Regions from separate parts of the Homo sapiens genome. Here region 2 is linked to region 1. Evidence: promoter capture Hi-C in human tissues and cell types (Jung and others, 2019). All regions are on one chromosome and are shown on one strand. The core of a region is centred on a gene start or on the middle of the fragment in contact, and the rest is flanking DNA. Distances in the headings are between cores, read along the strand shown.

Region 1 (3,361 bases), core at 105-2,604:
TGGCATAATGACACAGTGAGGGGTGAGGGTGGGGTCATCAAGGAAAGTTATATGGGACTTTTTTCCCCAAGAAAGGGTCTTGCTCTGTCACCCACGCTGTACTGCAGTGGCGTGATCATAGCTCACTGCAGCCTTGACCTCCAGGGCTCAGGTGATCCTCCCACTCCAGCCTCCCAAGTAGCTGGGACTACAGGTGTTTGCCACCACGCCCAGCTAATTATATTTTTTGTAGAGACGGGGTCTCACTATGCTGCCTAGGCTGGTCTTGAATTTCTGGGCTCAAGAGTTCTGCCTGCCTTGGCCTCCCAAACTGCTAAGATTACAGGCGTGAGCTACCGCACCCGGCCCGTATTGGATTTTATTTATTTCCTTTTCTTGGTGCTCATCCTCCTTCACAACTTCAAGATGGGCATAAGATGTTTGACAACATGGTTCTTCATTAAGTCCAACTCCTTATCATAATAGGGCTTGGGAAATATTAAACACGAGGGCAATCGTGCTAACACAAAAATGGGCGCCCCCTAAACCTTGTTACTTGTTTGCTCACTTATAAGAAGAGCCAACTCAAAGGCTCAACTGAATTCTAGCACTAAGATTCCTTCCTTGCTGTAGAAGATCTGTACCTGGTCACTTCCATTAAAGTTACATAGGCGTTCCAAGAAGCCTCCTGCAATACAGTTGTGACTCAGCCGGTATGGGAGTAATGACGGTCCTGTGGTATTTCCTGCACCCCCAGAGTCCCAGAGTTTGTTAAGGACCGTGTAAGAGGACACCACGCTGGCTTTTCAGTGGGCGCGTCTCTCCTGGGGGCATCACCAGACAACCCCAGGCGGAAGTGGCGGTGGCCCATCCTCATGCAAACTGCAGTGTAAGAACTGGGGCCCGGGACTCCTCGCAAATGTGGGACACTGACATTCTGTGATGCTGTCCCAATGCCCTTTCAAAGCGCTCAGCCCCCAAATTCCCAACCAACAGCCATTTCAGGGAGGGGCTACCCAGGACCAGGCTTTTGATGAACCACGACTGTTCGGGGTGCCGTCTTGGGAGAGCCACGTCAGTCCCTCTGAGATTCCAAACGGCCGACAGCGGACACCTCGGGACCACATCCAAGCCTCGGGGACCTGTCAAGACGCCATCGACGGTCCTGGACCAAATCCCGCCCGGGAAGGGAAGGGTCGCGACCGGACCCTGGAGACCCACGGCTGCCTGGCGATCTGAGCCCACCCCGGCGCTGCCGTCCCGCCCCCACTTCCGATCGGTCGAAGGTCACGTGCCCTGACCCCGCCCCGCAGACGCGACTCCTCCAGCTGCGAGCGTCCCGGCTTTCCCTTCCGCCGGAAGTAGGGCGACTTTCCTTTTCCGGCTACGGGTCCCCAAGCGGAGCGGGAGGCCGGACCGGGGAGCCGAGCGGCGGCGTCGGCGGCGTCGGCGGCGGCGGCGACGGCGGCGGGGGCGGTAATGGCGGAGCTGGTGCAGGGGCAGAGCGCTCCTGTGGGGATGAAGGCCGAGGGCTTCGTGGATGCCCTGCACCGGGTCCGGCAGGTACGGGCGCAGCCGGCTGGCAGGAGCACGAGATCCCGAGGCGGGGCCTGGCGGGCGGGGAAGAGGGGTTCGGGCCTGGGGGGCGGGAGGCAGCCTGAACCGACGTCTCAGCCGGGCCGGGCCGTTCCGTGGAGTTCCTACAGCCGGGAGGAGCCGGGGGGATAAGGCGCCACTGCGAGGCCCAGGCCCGGCCTGTCGGGCGGGTCTCCCAGGTGCCTGAAGTCGCTGGGAAAGGGTTTGCTTAGAGCGTCTGGCCCCATCGTGCCCCAGCGGCCAGCCTGGACCCACAGTGTAGCTAGCGCGGGGTTCTGAACCTCGCGAGGGGAGGGGTCCGGGAAGCCCACGGGGAGGATCTGGGTGTAGACATAAAGCAGCTGTCTGACGCCCAGTAGCTTGTTAAAACTTGGGGAACATCGTCTTTAGACTTTCTGTTGAGTAGAAGGAACTCGAGGGCATCTTATATGTGAGGGTGCTCTTTGGAGAGGTGAGAGAGGGAGGTGTTACATGTGTGGGGGTGGTCCCCAAGATGTAGAAATTTCTCATGGCAAGCTTGCCTCTACTGGGGAGAATGATATGGCCTCATTCCGACATTGAAACTTTACTGTCTGACAATGTCGTGCATTTAATCAAAGTTAAATTAACTGGGTTTTAGAAGGCTCCAGGCTTCCCCAGAGAGTGAATATGGGACCTGCCAAAAATACTTACTGGCTTCTGGCATGGTACTTAGAACAGAACGTGTTCTTCATTTGTATCTAAAACTTACTTACAAGTCAGCCCTAACACTTCAGCTTCCTCGGTTAAGTGTCTTATGTCCTCCTCTCTTCTTATGTAATTGTAAGCGCACTGATACTTTAAAAGTTGGGCTATAACTAATTACTGCTTGATTCCTAACAGAAAGCCACAGGAGTCATTGTATTAGAAGAAGGTCTTCACTCGGGCGCTTGAAGATATGGTCTTTACATCTCTTTCCAGTATTCCAGGGGAGGGAACCCTACCTGTTTCCCTGATAACTGACTTTTCATGTTATATATTGATGCTCCTATAGACATTATATTGGATCCCAGAACTTTCCAAACCTGTGGTTCCACCTAAAATTTTATCTGATGAATTGTTACTTTACTGCCTAGCTGCCAACCAGTACAGTAGTGAGTATCCATCTTACTTAGACTTCAGATCCACCCATGGCTGTAATGGATGAACATGCCACCCAGCTCCCCTTCCACCACTCTGCTTGCTGGCGTGTTACAGTGCTCTCCTCTACAGTACAGGGTCCTGAACCTTGTTTCTCACTGGCTACTAATATGTAATGGCTTTCGCTCTGTGCTGATGTGTGACAGTCACCTTGTTGGCCTTCTATGTCCGGGAAGAATTATAGTCACTGCCCTAAAGGGCTCAGATCCTCAGTTTGCAGAAGGCCTGTAGTTGAACATAAAGTGAATTTTGAACCATTGAGAAGACATTCCGCTTCTCTTGAGCCAGTGGTTGAACTCATATTCTTGGACAACCTGCTCCAGAGGGAGACCCTCTGGTAAATGCTGACCTAATGTGGATTGTTGAAGCAGTGGTGTTTACTACTAGCAGTGAAAACTTCATTGGAATTGTTCTCAGCTCTGAAATGCACCATTGACTGGAGCAGTAATAAGCCCAATGGAGACAGGGCTGTAAGTGTGTTCCTTCTGAATGTTAACAGCTGGAGGTCCATACTATCTCCAAGGATTTGATGGCCTTTAAAAACTAAAGAAAAACCAGGTTGGTGGGTAATTTTAGGTTTATTGTATATAGATTTGCATTGGGCAAGAACGGAATGTTAGAAATCTGT
Region 2 (3,226 bases), core at 42-2,541, 1.5 Mb after region 1:
CAATAATAGCAGCCACTGGAGAGTACTGACTCTGTGCTAGCTTAAGTGCTTTACTTGTATCACCTCATTTTGTCCTCATAACACCTTTCTGAGGTGGGTACAATTATCATTCCCATCTTAGAGAATACAGCACTGAAGCACAGAGAGGTTAGCCTCACAGCTGTCAGGTAACACAGCATGTGAGCCAGAGTGGTCAGGCTCTGGAGCCTACGCTCTGAACCACCGAGCAACACTGCCACTTGATGAACGAGCACACACACGAGAAACAGGCGTCCCATGAATGAGCACACACACATACGTGTAACATGCACCCCATAAATGAGCACACACACGAGTAACGCACACCCCATGAACGAGCACACACACACATGAATAACAGGTGCCTCATAAATGAGCACACACACGAGTAACACACACCCCACAAATAAGTCCATACACGTACGAGTAACACTCACTCCATGAGCACACACACATGCGAGTAACACACACCCCATGAACGAGCACACCAAACACACAAGTAACCCGTATCCCATGAACCTGTGCCCCATGAACGAGCACATGCATACAAGTAACCCACACCTCATGAACGAACACACGCATGAGTAACCCGTGCCCCATGAATGAGCACACGTGTATACGAGTAACACGCGTCCATGAACAAGCACATATGCATACGAGTAATGCACGTCCATGAACGAGCACACATGCATACGAGTAACACACGTCCATGAACGAGCACACATGCATACGAGTAATGCACGCCCCATAAGTGAGTACACACATACACACACCCCATGAACAAGCACACACACACACACGCATAACACGCGCCCCATGGATGAGCACACAAGCATATGAGTAACACACACCCCATAAATGAGTACAGAGGCATATGAGTAACATGCAATCCATGAGTACACAGGCACAGAAGTAACGCACGCCTCATAAATGAGCACACACGTGTATGCGCAACACGCACCCCGTGAACGAGCACACAGGCACTTGCGTAACACACACCCCATAAATAAGTACACATGCATATGAGTAACACGCACTCCATGAGTACACATGCGTACAAGTAACACACGTTCCATAAATGAGTACACACATGTGTACTATCACGATGCCTGGTCATTATAACTACCATTTACTTAGCACTTACTATGTGTGAGTTACCCTAAGACATTTGATGTGCATTATCTCAATCTTCGCTTCAACCCTATGATCCAAATACTAGTATTATCCCCATTCTACAGATGAGGAAACTGATACTCAAAAAGATTTTTTTCCCTTGTATCAAGGGTTGTGAGCTCAAGCATAAGCAGAGCTGGATCAGAACTCAGGTAGTCTTGACTCCAGAACTTACATCTAAGTTTTTATATTTTTGTTATACCTTCCTTGACTTCTGAATCCTGCCATGTATCTTGCTGTCCAGGAGACTGGCTGTATTTCATTGTTTTCTCTGGTTGGCTGTTCTTTTCACAATGGCTCCCACGGTATCCAGGGTTTGCAGGTGGGGAGGGAGGAGGAGGGTGTAGGGTTCAAGGCTAACCAGGGCAGTCTATACTACAGCCAAACTCACTACGCTAGCAAGTTCATTTTGAGTGATGGGGTGCTACGAAGGTTAGATTTAGGTGAAAGAACACCTTTGCCAATAAAAGGACAATTCAGAAGGGTGCTCAATCCTAAAGTCATGATGATTAAATTGTGAGGGGCATTTAAGTGATTTTCTCTCCTATTATATTCTGAAGGAATCTGTATTCCCTGAACATGTAGCAGCTATATGGAGAGAAGAATGAGTCAGGGGTGGGCCTGGTGGGAAGGAAAACACAAGTAGAAATCGGTTATACGTAACTCACAAAGTAGGATAACCCTAAGAGGCTGGTGGAATTGACTCTCCTCTTCCCAGACAGTTTTCACACTGCTGCCAAAATGACAGCCGCCACAGAACACCTGACATCAGGTGCAGCAGCTCAAATTAGCCTGACTCAGGCAACTCCAAAAAACTTCCACCAAGTCCCATTAGAAGGGCACACCAGGTGACAGATGATGTGGATAAAACTGCTACAATCAGCCTTCAAAGAGCTTATCATTGGTTCACCCAATGACCTCACCTTGGCCTTCCAAATGACCCCCAGCCCTGGCCTCCATCATAAGGTCTCCAAATTGCCTCCCATCCAAGCACCACAACTGGCTTTCTCAGTAATGGCTGAAAATGGAAATGCCCTCACTGTACTTCATCAAAAATACAAGCAAGCAAACCACGAAAGGGGTTGTAAATTAAAAATTCAACAGAAAACGCTTCGATTCATTTATTCTTTCATTCTCTCAGTGAATCTTCACTGAATGATTACAGTGTACCAGGCGCCTTGCTAGTTGCTGGGGACTCCCAGCAAGGAACAAGATGGACATGGTGCCTCTCCCCTGAGCCTTATAGTTTACCCTTAATAGAGGACAGAGTCCCTAAAGGAAAGGCTCTGCGTTGCAATGTAAAACGATTCCAACCCTGTTAGTTCCATGATGCAAAAACAGAAAAGAGCACCTTCAGAGATAGATGTGAGAGGTGAACTTTGCAGTAACTTAGTCATTAAGCAACTGGATTCTAATAAGAACAGTTCAGGAGGGCAGGAGGGAGGAAATGTCTTCAGACTTTCCAATGGAATATTCTTGGAATAGAAAGTTGCTCTTTCTGTAATAAAAAAAAAATCAAACGTGAAAAAAAAAAAAGGTAGCAGCAGCACCTCGCTCTGGGCCCATTTCCCAAGCCCAGTAAAAAGTGACACTTCTGGGGTCTTTGCAGCTTCAGATGTTGCCAGGGAAAGGCGGACGTCTTAGTCTGCTTTTCCAGGCAAATATACAAGTAGCCTTCTGCCATAAACAAATGAAAAAAATCAAAGCCAGAAATAAAAGCCTGGTGACAGGATGCCAGAAACCTTCAAAAGAGGACCTTCAGAATAAGTTCAGGTTAACTCTCAGCATCTCTGAACATAATAAGCACTATCAAGTCTACATTGACTATTTTATAGCAAGGACAGCGTTGATGCCAATTATTTTTTGCCCTAGTCAAGAAAGCTTGTCATCCTTCTCACAACAATTATCTATAGGTGCATAATAGTGAAAAGCTAAATTCTTTCCCCAATTCAGTACAGGAAAAGTGCTGCTCACAGCAATTTAACATCATTCCATTAGATGGGATTCATTTTTAAACATGTTATTCTAACAATTA

Evidence for each region. The method cuts DNA at HindIII sites, captures the fragments that hold promoters and counts their contacts. A contact is called where the count stands out against the background at its distance.
Region 2: a contact is called between a fragment that was not itself captured here and the fragment with the promoter of FUBP3 in region 1, in 1 of the 25 tissues and cell types used here (hippocampus).

The regions. Positions count from the first base shown.
Region 1 is chr9:130,578,223-130,581,583 of GRCh38, forward strand. FUBP3 (far upstream element binding protein 3) reads left to right here and starts at 1,355. Exons shown (of 19, transcript NM_003934.2): 1 at 1,355-1,542. The coding sequence starts at 1,459. It overlaps LOC100272217 (a long non-coding RNA gene), which reads right to left and starts at 1,272. Exons shown (of 1, transcript NR_027440.1): 1 at 1-1,272. LOC124902286 (a long non-coding RNA gene) reads left to right here and starts at 1,618. Exons shown (of 2, transcript XR_007061818.1): 1 at 1,618-2,026; 2 at 2,437-3,361. RefSeq lists a silencer at 1,303-1,672. The HindIII fragment of the contact is 10,079 bases long and covers 1-2,806 here.
Region 2 is chr9:132,071,054-132,074,279 of GRCh38, forward strand. The region is part of intron 2 of MED27 (mediator complex subunit 27); the gene reads right to left. Among named protein-coding and RNA genes, the nearest start is that of MED27, 7.2 kb to the right of the region's middle. The HindIII fragment of the contact is 9,993 bases long and covers 1-3,226 here.